6 separate regions of the Homo sapiens genome follow, and all the other regions are linked to region 3. Evidence: promoter capture Hi-C in 16 types of primary human blood cells and fetal thymus (Javierre and others, 2016). All regions are on one chromosome and are shown on one strand. The core of a region is centred on a gene start or on the middle of the fragment in contact, and the rest is flanking DNA. Distances in the headings are between cores, read along the strand shown. Region 1 overlaps DCLK1 (doublecortin like kinase 1). Region 2 overlaps LOC102723490 (a long non-coding RNA gene). Region 3 holds the start of CCNA1 (cyclin A1). Region 4 overlaps SERTM1 (serine rich and transmembrane domain containing 1). Region 5 overlaps SMAD9 (SMAD family member 9). Region 6 has its middle 25 kb from the start of RFXAP.

Region 1 (2,700 bases), core at 66-2,565, 450 kb before region 3:
CGGCATTAACAATCATCAGCACAGTGTCCTCAAAGAATTAACAAAGCCTCAGGAAGGATATAGAGAGCTTAAGCCTTAGTGGAATCTGGATTATATTATTTAAGGAATTAAATCAGAAATAATTCAAAAAGCTTCATTTGTGAAACTTGCATCCACTCCAGATGTTAAGAAATGACAAAAATAAAATGCTGTATTTTTCGTGTATGTGTGTGTGTATATATATACAGAGAGAGAAAGATAAATTCAAATTTTATCAACTGTTCCAAATATATAAGTTACTTCATGCATATCAGGAAGCTGAATACAGAACTATGAGCCTCATAAATGCCAGCTGATTATGTTCCCAACTCAGAGTGTCTGGGCAGATTGGGCAAGTTTTCCCCCTGAGCAATCTGCTGTCTGCATTTCTGCGCTCCTTCCTTGGGGTGGGCAGGAGGGAAGGGTATGTCAGCCACTCCCAGCTCACCCCAAATAAGTGGCCTGAGGGCAAGCAAAGGATTGGTGAGTCCAAGGACTCTTTCTGAGGAGGTATATTTTGGTGAATGACTATCACGAAGCCCTTTTGACTTAAGCACATGGTTCTCCATTGCCCCAATATTAGGTATTTGCTAATTAAAGTACAGAAATGCACACATTTAATACTGGTCATCAGGTGTATTCTGATGGGTCTAATGGGCTATTTTTTTTTTAATTCCACACAATACCTTGAATAATGAATGAGGAAATTACCTACAAGACCAGATCACAGCCAGAGATGAATGTTGGCAGTGACATGAAGAAGGCTGAGAACAAATGATTAGGTTTAGAAAATCCCAGCTCATCAACTCTGGTCTGCTCTTCAGTACCTAAGAATGGTGTCATACACCCAAGAACAGCTCCATGTTCAAGCACTAACTCCAGGCCCAGATGTTGTCTCGGTGGCATAGCAAATAATGGAAAGTTGCTCATTTCTTTCCCCATGAAGAAAGTCAAGGTTCGGAAGCCATCATAAGTTAATAGGACTAACGTTCTCTACACAGTGGGCACAATTACATTGTCAACAAGAGCTCTGTGAGTATTCAAATGTCAGCTTTCTTTACAGACTGGGTAGATAATAAGCAGAATGTCATTGTCCCTGAAAGAAATATTAAGGAAGTATTACTAACGATCCATTACAAATTGGTGTCAATTTCAAATATGTCACTGTGTTGACAGGATATAAATAATACATGAAGAAAACACTTGCACATTAAGAATCGATTTTCTGCTTTGTGCAATTTAGAGTTCCAGTTTTTTTTTTCTTTTCTTTTCTTTTTTTTTTTTTTTTTTTTTTTGACGGAGTCTCACTCTGTCACCCAGCTGGAGTGCAGTAGTACGATCTCGGCTCATTGCAACCTCTGCCTCTTGGGTTTAAGCTATTCTCCTGCCTCAGCCTCCCAAGTAGCTGGAATTACAGGCACGCGACATCACGCCCGGCTAATTTTTGTATTTTTAGTAGAGATGGAGTTTCACCATGTTGCCCAGGCTGGTCTCAAATTCCTGGGCTCAAGTGATCCACCCACCTTGGCCTCCCAAAGTGCTGGGATTACCGGCGTGAGCCACCGTGCCCGGTCTAGAATTCCAGTTTTTCATTCAATAAGTCTACAATGTAGTACTCTTATAATATTCTTTCCATTCTCACTCAATACTAGATTACAATTAAGAGAGGAAAACTCAGAAATCATACACAGCAGAATAATTTGCTATTTTACCAATGAAATAGAATTTGAACACTCTCAAACAACCAACATGTAATATCACAATTCGCCACTTGGTGTCACTAGACCTCCAGGAAACTCAAATTTACACTTACCCTGACAAGAGATTACGTTAGATTTCCACACCTTTTTTTCTGTAAGGCCCCATTTCACACAAAGATATTACAAAATGACAACGGCATGAATTATCGGAATGATGGAACTATCTTCTAAAAGGGTAGTAAACTCAGGTTAACTCCCAAACAGAATACACACCTATTACCTTACTAGTAAGAGTAATAACCACCAATTATTGAGCACCAGCCACAGTGCTAAGTGCTCTACCTATATTGTCTTATCTAATCCTGAAAACACGATCTTCCTTTAATGGTAGTTGTCTTTATTTTTAAAATGAGAAACCTGAGCTCTGCAGAGGTTAATAACTTGCCAAGCTGTTCCCAGTACCCAATCTCACATACAGATCTCTGCTAAGCCATGAGGCCACAAAACAGAAGCTATGTTTTTGGTCTGGAGAAATATTCTCCACCTGGAAGACAACCCTTACCCACAAAAAGGCAGTAGCCCAAGGGCTGTCAACGAAGTGCCAAGCGACTTTCCAATGACTATTAAAAGTAAAAGAATACAGCCCGGGATTCAGAAGACCCGGCCGGGGAAGGACTAATCAATGAGGTTTCATGGAAGACAAGGGATGTCAGCTGATCTCTGCATGGGGTTCAGAACTGAGACAGCCAGAAAGAGGACATGTGAATGGGGTGAGGCGCAGAAAGCTTCTAAACAGCCACTGCCATTGCTTGGCAAATGCATGACAGCCAATCCATAAACAATATTGTCCCAGAGCTATCCTTTCCCGTCAGATCCCAAAGGCCCACTCGTTTCTCACTGCTTTCCACTCCCAGTGCCAAAGTACTGACTCATAGCATTTTTGGCTAAAAGGGAAGGAACTGAATTTTCTTTTTTACTTTTA
Region 2 (2,700 bases), core at 55-2,554, 280 kb after region 3:
ATTGAGCTAAGAATAAAGATAAAATTTCTCCAGTGGGTCCAAGGCCTTGGGGCACCACCCCTCAATACTTCATATCTTACCACTCTCCTAACTTCCTTCAACACACCCACACCCATCTTTATATACACTGCTGTCTTTGTCTGGGACACCAATTCCTCCCTCATCCCTAATGCCTGGCTAGATCATACACATCCGTGCTTTTCACTGAGACATCAATTTCTCCAGGGAATCATCTGTGATATTTCCAGGCAGGGTATCTCCTACAGGTTTCCTATCACCTGCTGTTAATGGAAAATGCAGCACTCACCCCTGGAGTGATTCATCTGTCTCCCCTCCCGCATGGTACTCTGAGCTCCTGCAAGCAAGGCTGCAGGCTATCTCGCAGCCCAGTGTGAAGCACATGAAACCCCCTCAATAAAAAGTCCACACATGAATGAGTGATAACCTAAGAAAAATAGAAGTAAAATTTCCTCATGTGCATCAGTGTTTCCATAAGGAATCCATTTAAATTAACAAAAGAATTTTCACTTTTAAATGTTTGTCTATAAGCTACACAATGTCCCATAAAACAAATGAAAACAGAAAAAAAAAATCTTAGTTTAAATGTTTTTTCCAAGTCATGTACTGCGTAAAGCTCAGCACAGCCTCTTTCAGTGTTTGCAGGTCCCGATCTCTGGCTGCCCCAGGCTTTGGACCCGTTCCTTTCAGCTTCTTGTGAGGCAGGAGTGGGAGTACTGTGCTCTCCACCCCATGCCCTTACTGTGGACTGTGCAGCCCCCAGCTGTTACTAATTCTCTTCTGGAACCACTTTCTCCTTGTTGAAGGAGCCCCTATGACTCAGCAGCCTGTAAATGAGTTAGACCTTTTTGCTCAAAGCAGACTGAACACAATGAACCACCGCATACTACGTGGCAATTAAATTAGAGAAACATTGAACAGATCTCTGCATAGTCAGAAGGTACCTGCTTATAAACTGCAAGTAGCTAGAATCTTTTTTCTCAAGGCAAGATCACAATTCAACCATGCTCAGCCACGTTGTCATAGTGAATGCTAAACTACAAGTAATTTCTAGTGAAGGAAGCATGTTATTAGTCCTCGGTGCTCCAGTTTCCCCCCACAGAATAAAGATGTATTTTATCAAAAATAACTTATACCTTGGCATCCAGTGTAATGCAAATTTGATAAAAATATAAAACTCTGTTAAAATTAGAGACATGAGGACACCAAAACTTATTCTTCCTGTTTAACTGTAACTTTGTACCCATTGACCAAACTCTTCTGGTTCCCTCCCTCCACCCTCCCCAGCCTCTGTTAACCACTATAGCAAATAACAATGCAGTGAATATTTTAAGATAGCTAGAAGAAATGAGAAATGTTTAAAGTGGCGGATATGGTAATTACCCCAATTTGATCATTATATTATGCATACACACGTCAAAATATCACATTGTATCCTGTAAATATGTACAATTATTGTATCCATTATACATTTTTAAAATTAAGCAAAAGTAAAAGACCAAGAACATGAAATCCTTTAGCTCACACAATATGCAGACTGAGAACTTTGGTGAATTTTAGAAGTGCAGGTTTCAGATTGTGCCCTGAATGTGCTAATACAGGGTGTATACATGATCTGTTCCTAATGTGTATGAAGACGGACTTTTTGTAAATAGCTTAATGAATATTTATTGTAATCACAGTATAGAGTTTATCCTAAATTTTTACTTCTTTGCACCTCGTTAGAGACTGAATACAGAAACTGAAAGATTAGCAGCTTCAAAGAATTTTAAATACATATCTGGAATGTCTGCTATTATAGGTCCTGTAGTTCTATAGGTTCTGTGATTCACTAACAATTACTCAGCATTGAGTATTAGGAAAGCACAGACTCTGTCCTCAGGTTACTCACAGTCTGGTTGGGGGCAGAAGGAGAAGTAGAAAAGAAAAAGAAGAAGAAACAAACATGTGCAGGATGTCTGCTGTGTGTCAGGCACTATATGAGATGATATATACATTTCACTGAATCTCCACGAAAATCCCATGTGGTTTGGATTATTATCTCTCTCTTCCAGAGAAAGAAACAGAGGTTCAGAGGGATACATTCCCCAAGATCACACAGCTTGTAACTTGCTGCAGAGCAATGCGATAAGAGCTGCACTAGCCAGAGAAGGAGGTTGCCCATGTGATAAGTACAGTGAGAACAAATAGGAAAGTGAGAAGGGGCTTTGCTTTGTTGGACAGCATGAGTTTAAAGATTCTGGTTTTGACATCTAAGTTATTCCTGAGAAGATGTGCTTTAGACAGCTGGATAAATGGGTCTGGAGGTCAGAAGAGAGCCAAAGCTGAAGGCACGAATGAGATCCTTTGGGATTATGTACAAATCCAAAAGAAAAAAGGCTGAGGATTGAACTCTGTGGCTTTTAAGAAAACAGTACTTAAGCGGTACATAGGCTGGACATGATGGCTCACACCTGTAATCCCTGCATTTTGGAAGGCCAAGGCAGGGGGATCACTTCAGGCCAGGAATTGGATACCAGCCTGGGGGCAACATTGCAAGACGTCCTTACAGAAAAATACAAAAATTAGACACGCAGGGAGGTGTGTGCATGTAGTCCCAGCTACCTTGAGAGGAGGAGATGGAAGGATAGCTTGAGCCTAGGAAGTTGAGGCTGTAGGGAGCCAAGATCATGCCTCTGCACT
Region 3 (2,700 bases), core at 147-2,646:
TGTCCACACTCAGTTTGCTTGGTGAAAATGTTAATAACGCACACTTAGAAAAACGGTGATAACCGTTGCTTGCATAAAGTGGCCATTTGAATAGACTTTGGATCTGATTTAGAGATTTAGGGATGGATGTTTTAAAAAAAGCAAAAGTAGTAACAGACTATAGCATTGGTAATGTGTGTGTGCATATATACATATTATTTTTAAAAAAATAAAGTTCGATTATTTCACCTGGCTTGTCAGTCACCTATGCAGGCGTCTGAGCCCCCGGGTTTCCAGGAGCCCCCCGTATAAGGACCCCAGGGACTCCTCTCCCCACGCGGCCGGGCCGCCCGCCCGGCCCCCAGCCCGGAGAGCTGCCACCGACCCCCTCAACGTCCCAAGCCCCAGCTCTGTCGCCCGCGTTCCTTCCTCTTCCTGGGCCACAATCTTGGCTTTCCCGGGCCGGCTTCACGCAGTTGCGCAGGAGCCCGCGGGGGAAGACCTCTCGTGGGGACCTCGAGCACGACGTGCGACCCTAAATCCCCACATCTCCTCTGCCGCCTCGCAGGCCACATGCACCGGGAGCCGGGCGGGGCAGGCGCGGCCCGCAAGGACCCCCGCGATGGAGACGCAACACTGCCGCGACTGCACTTGGGGCAGCCCCGCCGCGTCCCAGCCGCCTCCCGGCAGGAAGCGTAGGTGTGTGAGCCGACCCGGAGCGAGCCGCGCCCTCGGGCCAGCGTGGGCAGGGCGCCGCAGCCTGCGCAGCCCCGAGGACCCCGCGTCGCTCTCCCGAGCCAGGGTTCTCAGGAGCGGGCCGCGCAGGAGACGTTAGAGGGGGTTGTTAGCGGCTGTTGGGAGAACGGGTCACGGAAACAGTCCCTTCCAAAGCCGGGGCCATCGTGGGGTGGGCGAGTCCGCCCTCCCAGGCCGGGGGCGCGGACCAGAGGGGACGTGTGCAGACGGCCGCGGTCAGCCCCACCTCGCCCGGGCGGAGACGCACAGCTGGAGCTGGAGGGCCGTCGCCCGTTGGGCCCTCAGGGGCCTGAACGCCCAGGGGTCGCGGCGAGTCCACCCGGAGCGAGTCAGGTGAGCAGGTCGCCATGGCGATGCGGCCCCGGAGAGCGCACGCCTGCCGCGGTCGGCATGGAAACGCTCCCGCTAGGTCCGGGGGCGCCGCTGATTGGCCGATTCAACAGACGCGGGTGGGCAGCTCAGCCGCATCGCTAAGCCCGGCCGCCTCCCAGGCTGGAATCCCTCGACACTTGGTCCTTCCCGCCCCGCCCTTCCGTGCCCTGCCCTTCCCTGCCCTTCCCCGCCCTGCCCCGCCCGGCCCGGCCCGGCCCTGCCCAACCCTGCCCCGCCCTGCCCCGCCCAGCCGGCCACCTCTTAACCGCGATCCTCCAGTGCACTTGCCAGTTGTTCCGGACACATAGAAAGATAACGACGGGAAGAGCGGGGCCCGCTTTGGGGTCCAGGCAGGTTTTGGGGCCTCCTGTCTGGTGGGAGGAGGCCGCAGCGCAGCACCCTGCTCGTCACTTGGGATGGAGACCGGCTTTCCCGCAATCATGTACCCTGGATCTTTTATTGGGGGCTGGGGAGAAGAGTATCTCAGCTGGGAAGGACCGGGGCTCCCAGATTTCGTCTTCCAGGTAACGTGGGTTTAGTATCCCGACTTGGAGGCTTGTCAGAATGTTTCTCTCCTTCCAGCCCAACACGAAGTCTTGGGATAAAAAGCCTCCCTCAGGGATTCAAATAACTGTTTTGATTCAGAGCAACTTTGATCGCCTGTGCGGTCGCACCTGCCCTTTCAGCCCCAATAATTACTGGGAAGATCAGCAATTGGTGTTAGTCCCATTGCTTGGTGCTCTCCCTCCTAGAGGTTCGCTGTGTCCTTGGAGCCCGGGGTGGACGGAATCGACTAAACAGCTTGTCTGTTTCTCTTTCCCTGGTAGCAGCAGCCCGTGGAGTCTGAAGCAATGCACTGCAGCAACCCCAAGAGTGGAGTTGTGCTGGCTACAGTGGCCCGAGGTCCCGATGCTTGTCAGATACTCACCAGAGCCCCGCTGGGCCAGGATCCCCCGCAGAGGACAGTGCTAGGGCTGCTAACTGCAAATGGGCAGTACAGGAGGACCTGTGGCCAGGTAATGACTCAGACGCATTGAGAATGATGCTTGTGGAGAACAGCTCTCCTGCTTTGGTGCCAGGTGCTTTTCTCTTGCCCTTGTACCTACAACTCCCCCTGAGTATTACAACCCTGGAATCTGGACTACAGGAAAGTTGATTGATTTATTTTCTTTCTTTCTTTCTTTCTTTCTTTCTTTCTTTCTTTCTTTCTTTCTTTCTTTCTTTCTTTCTTTCTTTCGTTCTTTCTTTCTTTCTTTTCTTTCTCTTTCTTTCCTTCTTTCTTTTTCTTTGTTTCTCTTCCTTCTTCCTTTCCTTTTTTTTTCTTTCCTTTCCTTTCCTTCTTTTTTTTTTTTTGAGACGGAGTTTCGCTCTTGTCGCCAGGCTGGAGTGCAGTGACGCGATCTCGGCTCACTGCAACCTCCACCTCCCGGGTTCAAGCGATTCTCCTGCCTCAGCCTCCCGAGTAGCTGGGATTTCAGGCACCCACCACCACGCCCGGCTAATTTTTGTGTTTTTAGTAGAGATGGGATTTCACCATGTTGGCCAGGCTGGTCACCAACTCCTGACCTCAGGTGACCCGCCCACCTCGGCCTC
Region 4 (2,700 bases), core at 45-2,544, 260 kb after region 3:
CAAAACTCTACTCTCCCAAAGCATTGTACTGATAAGTAAAGGCGGTTCTCAAATAGGCAACTCTATGGATGGCTGAGTCAGCTTTGAGTAAGGGTAGCACGTAAGATAGTAAACTTTATTTCTATTACTGCAAGGCCCAGGGGTAAATGTTTGCCTTTGAATGCAAGTGAAGATTTACATTTAGAGAAGGGTGGTGGGAAGTGTGTATTGTCAGCAGTAATCTTCTCTCAGCTAGCATGACCTAAAAGGCCACTAAGGAGAGAGAAAGCATTAAAAGAGAAGATAATCATGCAAAGGGTAAAGGAATGGCTGCAAGGTCTTATATAAAACATGCATTTTCTAAATAGAATGAAAAACAGCTTTGCTCAGATATGATAAGTTCCCTTCTGGATTCTGGAAATATTCATTTTTAGGTGTTCTACAGAGGAAAAGATCTAATACATCATCTAAAACCATTAATTCCATTCAACTATCAAATCTTCCTTTTGTGTACTGGAAAAAGCTTTTTATTATGTTGTGTTAATACTTTGTGGCCACTTTCCTCATGGTTTTGAGAGGATCACCTTTTGGAGTATGACAGCAGAACCTGATAATGATGGAACATTGATATGGCATCTAACAGCCAGGCCACTCTTTAAATATAAAGTCCGCAAGGGAACAAAGCAGCTTGTCCCAGTTTTCCACAACAACAACAAAAACCTTTCAAATAGTCGTTATTCACATAGAAATGTATTTGAATAAAGGTCATGAAATTTAAAATTGCTGTGCCATATTTGAGGCTGACTGGTAGCCTGAGTTTTACAAACTATTGTGTCATAGAAGTCAAGGATGTGGCGCAGGCTGGGCCCATGCGCTGACTGCCATGGGTCCTGCAATGCTTATGTGAGAGCACTCAGAGATGAGAGCTGGTCAACTCTTCTTCATTTATGGAGAATGAAGGTACGTGCTAGAGAGTATGTTTTTCTTCTTCCCAAACATTATAGTCCTCATAATCCTTCCGTGGGAAGGAAGTTCTTTAAAAGGGGTCCCAGGGCTGTGGTGCTAAATGACTGGGAACCAGAGACCCCAGGTGTGCGCTGTCTTACGTTGTCTCTCTGTTTCCCCACCCCACTGGGCACATGGTGAGAGACTGCACATCCCTCCTTCCTCACTTCACTAGGGGACTGCTTTTTTGTAGATTTCTTCCCAGCCCAGGCTTTTATTACAAGAGACAAAGGGAAAGCTGGTTGACCATGAGCTAAAACATTTCCACAGGTCTTCCTTTATAATGTTGTGATCCAACTGTCTCATTTTCCTTTCTCAAAAATCACCTTCTGAGGACAGTGATTCTGAGCGGAAAAAAAGCATCAAAATCCCCATGTGGCTTTAGGTGTCACCTGAAATGAGAGTCTGCTGGCGCTGCCCCGAGACAGGTCAAGGCTATGCATTTAAGATGAAGTCTCTTTCTTCTTTTCCTCAAACCTTATCTGTTTGGGAGCAACAGCCCAAGAAGCATCATCTTGAAACACACTCATTTGATTTCATTTCCGCAGTGCAACCTCCAGCCTGTTTCCACACTGTCACAATGCCTAAACACATACAGGCTGGGTCACCCTGAGCATTATACAGCTACTGTTAAATAAAACCAAAGAGAAAGAAGATATTCCAGTTTTTAAAACTTCAATAAGGAAACGAGAATTAACATCCAAATTAAAATTCTTTCTAGCAGTGCACATACTCTGTTGTTTCAGAGTATGAAATGAAATTTGTGTAGCTGTGATTTTAAATTAAGAAGTACCCCGGAAATGGTATTAAATCAATAATATTTGGGGGGAATACTTAAGGAAGAAGATATTTAGTTGTGAAATGTCAAATAAGGACACAAGGTTTCATTTCCTTGTTTTCTCCTATTCTTCCAAGGCCACTTAAAAGATCAGATGCTTTGACCAAACCTTCTGAGCCTCATTTCCTATAAACTCTCCTGTCAACAGTTGAGGCTCATGGTGGGGTTTTGGTCTGAAAGAAGGCAATCTTCTGGAAGTAAAAACCTACTCTTAGAATATTTACCCTGTAAAATGATATTAACAAGAGGTCTGGTAGCCAGCTGTAAGCTTTACCAACTGAATTGCTGATACCAGAGTGACATTGCCTGTGCCTCCAGCACCATCCCTGAAAATGATACAGACTTGGGTAGCAGAGAAGGTAGCTTTAGAAAAATCAGCCAACTTCAGCTACACCTGTCGAAACTGTAGGACTAAGAGAGACCTTGAAAGTTCCTCTAGACTTTCTAGAAGGAACTTTCTATCTACTGGCACTTTACTTGGGATGGCCTTTTATGATTTTCTAAGTATGATTATGGAAAATGTTATCACATCTTAACTCAAGACCTTCTGGAGAAGTAGGAAAGGTAGGCATCACTGTTGTGCAAATGAGAAAAATAAAAGATCGGGACTAAACTGTGGGCTTGCCCAAAGTAAGTGGCAGATAGGAACTAATTATCCAAAGCATAATTTTTCTTTTCTTACCACAGTTGAGAAAACCAAGAACACAGTTCAGGCATGGATTCTAGTCACTTTTCTGTCACTGTCTAGCTATGTACCCTGAGTAAATCGCGATGTTTTTGCATGTCAGTTTTCTCATCTCCAAAATGGGAATAATTCCTGCTTTACCTGCCCTGCAAAGTAGTCATGAGGAACACACAAGATGCATAGTCTTTGCCTT
Region 5 (2,700 bases), core at 76-2,575, 480 kb after region 3:
GCGGATCATGAGGTCAGGAGATCGAGACCATCCTGGCTAACATGGTGAAACCCTGTCTCTACTAAAAATACAAAAAATTAGCCGGGCGTGGTGGCAGGTGCCTGTAGTCCCAGCTACTTGGGAGGCTGAAGCGGGAGAATGGCATGAACCCGGGAGGTGGAGCTTGCAGTGAGCCGAGATGGTGCCACTGCACTCCAGCCTGGGCGACAGAGAGAGACTCCATCTCAAAAAACAAAAACAAAACAAAAAAAAACTTACTCTTCCTTCTTCCTTCCTCACTCCTCCTCTCAGCCAAACTCCAATTCTCTCACTGTGATTCTCAGCAAAGAAAGGAGCAAGATGAATTCATGAACTTATGATGAAGTGTACTGATAAGAGATGTCAAATATTCTGCCACAAAGTGGGAAACTGATGGAATCTGTGAATCCCTTTCTGCGTTACCATTAACTCCTGAAATGTGGTACTACCAAGTCAGTTAAATTTAGATACAAGAATTCAGAAAGCAACTCCTGGCACTTCAGTTGAACGCTACCATCCATCAAATGCTTCTTAAAAAAGACCTGCAAATCTGCTGTAAGCTTTCCATAGCCCACAAGTACGTAGGACAAAATCCTTTAGAATGACATTAACCATTGCACAATTATTGCGTTTTGTGAAAACAAATCAAAATACACAGTAACCAAAGTAAATCTGTATTTGATAGGCTTCTAAGCACTTTAACAGATGAAAAGTAAAAAACAGGCTGTATGGAAGAAGATATTCCATAGATTAAAGCAGTCATTTAAGGCAAATGGCCCAGTGTATCTAGGGATGTGCTCCTGGGGTCAGTGAGTTCAGGATGTGGCTACCTCACAGTGTTCACACTTCTACTACTTGCAAACTCTAAGTCGTCAGAATCCTCAACTCAGAATCCCCAATGTCACCAACACGTTTGAATGGCCGCAAGACCACATGTATGCTATCCAGATTCCTTTGTTCAGTGATAGAAAACTGGCAACTGGAGTCCTAGAATGAATGGGCATCCCTGGCACTCCTAGTGCTTGTAAACTGAAGATTGCTTTTCGCAACTGCAGCACCAAACTCTCCTCGGGACTGAGGAGTACATGTTTTCTATTTATAGTCCCTCAGAATTAAATATGAAAAAGAAAAGGAAGTGATCAGATATTAAGTATTAAATTTCCCCAAGGGGAAATTCACATAAAAATAATCCCCACCAGTGAATCAGCTAATCAGAGTACCAAAGAATGAGACAAAGAGAGAGAGAGAGAGAGAAGATTTTGATATTTAATATCTAAAAAAGAGGAATTGGAAATTGTCATTATAGGAAAAAATCAGAACTACATAGGTCTCCTTTACAATTATTCTTTGGGTTAAACTTTTTTCTTTGAATTAAATGTGGGCTGGGAATGAGGGGGAAGAACCATAATCTCTTCAGTGCTTATGACTTCTAAAGTGTTACAACCGTGTGCACACACATATACAATCCACCTTAATATTTATGCCTTTTATTTTAAATTCTGAATTTAAATTTTATATTGGGAGTCGTTTTGATTCTTGAAAAATGCGTTTTGAGCTGATTAGAGCTTCCCAATTAAAACGGTACAACTGAATATATTATATGGGCATGACATTTATAAGCAAATTCTATTTTTTCACATCATATTAACTTTAATACTGGATTGTTACACAGAACATGATATATTTTAAAATGAGAGTTAGTATTGTTCGATAATAGAATGACCAAGGCACAGAAGGCAGATTCTGCCTGACGAGGCTGATAACAAGACCCTTTACACATCCAACGTGAACAAAGCAGCAGCTCATCTCAGTAGCAGTCTGCTTTTCTTTTGTGAGCATAGTTTGAAACACATACATTAAAAACAGTATCAATTTTTATGCGGCTATGGTGGGGGGAGGAATCAGCATATCGTGTTAGCAATTTTCTGTGGAATCACATTAGTGTTTCATTGTGGTAGCCGTATCACATTAAAATCTGTTTTTCTACTAAATGGCTTCCATTGTGTATTTAGTGAATCTGATATGGAAAACTGCTAATGCAATAAGAGTATCATAGAAGCTTTTCCTGACTGTAATGCTCAGCCACAATGTTCAGGAGAAGGAGGCTCTCAACTGGGCTGAGGGGATTTCAGGCCTCTGAACTAGTCCTCAGCTCAGATTCAACACCAGCTTCTTGAAAGATGGACTTTATCCTATGGGTGAAATGCTTTTACAGACTTTATTTCAGGAGGGACCATGGGTTCAGTGAAAAAATGTGTCATGTATTTGTTATTTATTGATAGAGTACTATAAAGGGCACTGTGGTCAGCATTCAGAGAATAAAAAAGGTAGATGAAACAGTCCCTTCCTTCCTGGATCTTGTAAGGATGGTCTGAGGGGAAGAAATAAATTAGTCTATGAGTAACTTAATACAAAACAGGTAAGAGTTGAAAAGGCGAAGAGCCACAGGAGCTCGAAGGAGGACATACCTGGGACCAGGGTCATCACAGAAAGTCCCGTGAAGGCAGCGCCTGAACAGGGCATACAAGATGAAGAAGTCATATTTGAGGATCCTGTGGGAGGTGGGGAAGCTGGGAAGGCCTCAGCGTGGGGTAAAGGTGCACAGGAGAGGAAAGCCAGGGTATGCATGGAAACTAGCATTTGCTATTTTAACTGCAGCATAAAATAGGGAAAGACCGGGAA
Region 6 (2,700 bases), core at 113-2,612, 360 kb after region 3:
TAAGAGATTAGTACAAAGAGGATAAAAATAAATCCAAACCAAATAATTTCTCTATCCCATTTAATACTGCTTTAAGAAGACGGTAAAAGATATTGAAATCAATTGCATAGTGCAAATAACTTTGATTATGAGTGGGCAAAAGTAACCTGAATAATCATAAGACTTTAATATTTGCATCTATAAAGTGTTCAAGGACAGAAAAATTATGTAGAAAAGATTATTTTCAAAATTGCTAACAATGAATACAAAAAATTTGTCAATATTTGAAACCCTAAAATTAATTAAAGAGAAAAAAATTTCCTTTTCCAACATCATTGCTTATTTAACAGATGGAGCACCAATAATGTAAGTTTAGAGCCAACTTTAAAAAGAGGTACCGGGTGTTTTAACAAGTCATTTTATTATTCATCAACAACCTAATTACCAAGTCTCAGAGAACAAGATAATCATCAATGAATGTTTAAAAATAATCCCTTCACTGACAGATTATTCATAATCTTTCAAATGTCATTTAAGTGTTTGAATGTCATGTCCAAATAAGATGGTTCACCAAGCAAATATTTTTAAAAGGTTTGGCTCACATTATGGACCTTTATGGATCTTTGACATGATCAATAAAAATATATATATAATTGGAAATACTGCAAATTGATGAGATATAGCCTTCAAGCATATTTGAAAAGGTCTTCCTTATTCAAATTATAATTTTTAATTTATATTTTGTATATTAATATATTTATTTTTAAATATACAGAAAAGTTGAAAGACTAGGACATGCTTGTCCAACTCACAGCCCATGGGTCACATGTGGACCAGGACAGCTTTGAATGAAGCCCAACCCAAATTCATAAACTTTCTTAAAGTATTATGAGTTTTTTTGTGATTCTCTTTTTAACTCATCTGCTATAGTTAGTGTTAGTGTATTTTACATGTGGCCCGAGACAGTTCTTCTTCCAGTGTGGCCCAGGGAAGCCAAAAGATTGGACACTCTTGGATTAGAGCAAGGAACACCCATATGCCTGCCACCTACATTCAGCAATTGCAAGTATTTTGCTGTAATTGCTTCCTATATGTTTGTATATTTGACTAAAACATTTCAAAGTAAAATACAGTGACCATGCTATTTCACCTCTGAGTTCTTAATCATGAATCTCCTAAATATAAGGATATTCTCTTGCATAACCACAATGTTATTGCTATACCTTTAAAAATTTAGGAGTGGGCTGCAGCCTGGGCGACAAGGCTTCCCCCAGCTGACCTCTGTGCCCTAGAAACCGTAGGGACCCAATGGGTCAGCTCACTTGGGTGGGTGCGGTGGCACCAACCATGGGTGCTTTAGAAGAAGGCTTCATTGTGCCCTTCTCCTCTGACTCTGATGCACATTTTGATGCTGCGGTTGGATATTTAGAGGACATTATCATGGATGAAGATTTCCAGTTATTACAGAGAAATTTCATCAACAACTACTACCAGGAGTTTGAGGACACCAAAGAGAATAAACTCACCTACACACCTATTTTTAATGAATATATTTCTTTGGCAGGAAAGTATATAGAAGAACAGTATATAGAAGAAAGTATATAGAAGAACACACCTATTTTTAATGAATATATTTCTTTGGCAGGAAAGTATATAGAAGAACAGTTGCTGGAGCAAATTCTTGGCTTTACCATGGCAACTTTCACAACGTTACAGCACCACAAAGATGAAGTGGTTGGTGACATACTCCAAATGCTGCTCAAATTTACAGATTTTCTGGCTTTTAAAGAAATGTTTCTGGACTGCAGAGCAGAAAAAGAAGGCCAGAGACTGGACTTAAGCCGTGGTTTAGTGGAGACTTCATTGTGCAAATCATCTTCTATGACAGCTTCTCAGAACAATCTGCAGCAGTAGGACCTACCTCCAGACAATGAATGGTATCATTCTCAATTTCACGGGCTCAGTAGTTCAATAGGCTCGGCTCATGATGACAGGAGAACGTATCCTGGAAAAACTGATTCTGTTCTGCAACTCTTCATTCGCATTAAATATTGATGGGGTAAAAGCCAAAATGATCTAATCCTCCTGGACCTATTTATCCTGAAACATCTTGTTGGGTTTTTGTTTTTGTTTTTGTTTTGAGACAGGGTCTCGCTCTGTCGCCCAGGCTGTACTGCAGTGGCCCAATCTCGGCTCACTGCAGCTTCCACCTGCCTGGTTCAAATGATTCTCCTGTCTCAGCCTCCCAAGTAGCTAGAATTACAGGCACCCACCACCACGCCCAGCTAATTTTTTTGTATTTTTAGTAGAGACGGGGCTTCACCATGTTGGCCAGGCTGGTTTTGAACTCGTGACCTCAAGTGATCCGCCTGCCTCAGCCTCCCAAAGTGCTAGGATTACAGGTGTGAGCCAACACACCCACCCCTCCCCCGGCCGAATCACCTTCTTGTATTCATTAACCCTAATACTCCTCCCCTCCCCAAGTAGGTACCTCTCTCAGGTGCTTCTGACTCAGGCAGCTTGTGAGCAAGCCCATGTCAAGCATTCCACTCTGTGGGGGGCCTTTCCTCACCCCAGCATTCACGTTTGCGTATCAAAACCCACCATCATGAACCCTCTTTATCCCAGCAGGGTTTGCATAAATTTTTTGTGCACTTGCATCTCATTTTTGACATGGGTTAGAGTTTCAGTTCTTCAGCCCCAGTGAGGTTTTTTATATTT

What was found. Contacts are between HindIII fragments. The CHiCAGO score rates a contact against its expected background, and 5 or more counts as called.
Region 1: a fragment that was not itself captured here is called in contact with the fragment with the promoter of CCNA1 in region 3 in 4 of 17 cell types (M2 macrophages, M1 macrophages, M0 macrophages and 1 more); the score reaches 10.0 in M2 macrophages.
Region 2: a fragment that was not itself captured here is called in contact with the fragment with the promoter of CCNA1 in region 3 in 5 of 17 cell types (M0 macrophages, monocytes, M2 macrophages and 2 more); the score reaches 8.5 in M0 macrophages.
Region 4: a contact is called between a fragment that was not itself captured here and the fragment with the promoter of CCNA1 in region 3, in 3 of 17 cell types (M0 macrophages, M2 macrophages and M1 macrophages). The highest score is 6.4, in M0 macrophages.
Region 5: a contact is called between a fragment that was not itself captured here and the fragment with the promoter of CCNA1 in region 3, in 2 of 17 cell types (naive B cells and M1 macrophages). The highest score is 5.5, in naive B cells.
Region 6: a fragment that was not itself captured here is called in contact with the fragment with the promoter of CCNA1 in region 3 in 1 of 17 cell types (M0 macrophages); the score reaches 5.4 in M0 macrophages.

The regions. Positions count from the first base shown.
Region 1 is chr13:35,976,914-35,979,613 of GRCh38, forward strand. All of the region lies in intron 3 of DCLK1 (doublecortin like kinase 1), which reads right to left. Among named protein-coding and RNA genes, the nearest start is that of DCLK1, 150 kb to the right of the region's middle. The HindIII fragment of the contact is 2,372 bases long and covers 130-2,501 here.
Region 2 is chr13:36,712,166-36,714,865 of GRCh38, forward strand. All of the region lies in intron 3 of LOC102723490 (a long non-coding RNA gene), which reads right to left. Among named protein-coding and RNA genes, the nearest start is that of SERTM1, 39 kb to the left of the region's middle. The HindIII fragment of the contact is 7,545 bases long and covers 1-2,700 here.
Region 3 is chr13:36,431,099-36,433,798 of GRCh38, forward strand. CCNA1 (cyclin A1) reads left to right here and starts at 1,397. Exons shown (of 9, transcript NM_001413923.1): 1 at 1,397-1,631; 2 at 1,935-2,123. The coding sequence starts at 1,959. RefSeq lists silencers at 701-770, 1,051-1,100, 1,131-1,290. The HindIII fragment of the contact is 15,627 bases long and covers 1-2,700 here.
Region 4 is chr13:36,690,295-36,692,994 of GRCh38, forward strand. All of the region lies in intron 1 of SERTM1 (serine rich and transmembrane domain containing 1), which reads left to right. The region is part of intron 6 of LOC102723490 (a long non-coding RNA gene); the gene reads right to left. Among named protein-coding and RNA genes, the nearest start is that of SERTM1, 18 kb to the left of the region's middle. The HindIII fragment of the contact is 1,588 bases long and covers 501-2,088 here.
Region 5 is chr13:36,914,293-36,916,992 of GRCh38, forward strand. The region is part of intron 1 of SMAD9 (SMAD family member 9); the gene reads right to left. Among named protein-coding and RNA genes, the nearest start is that of SMAD9, 4.6 kb to the right of the region's middle. The HindIII fragment of the contact is 1,499 bases long and covers 577-2,075 here.
Region 6 is chr13:36,793,158-36,795,857 of GRCh38, forward strand. It overlaps the pseudogene ARL2BPP3. Among named protein-coding and RNA genes, the nearest start is that of RFXAP, 25 kb to the right of the region's middle. The HindIII fragment of the contact is 9,289 bases long and covers 1-2,700 here.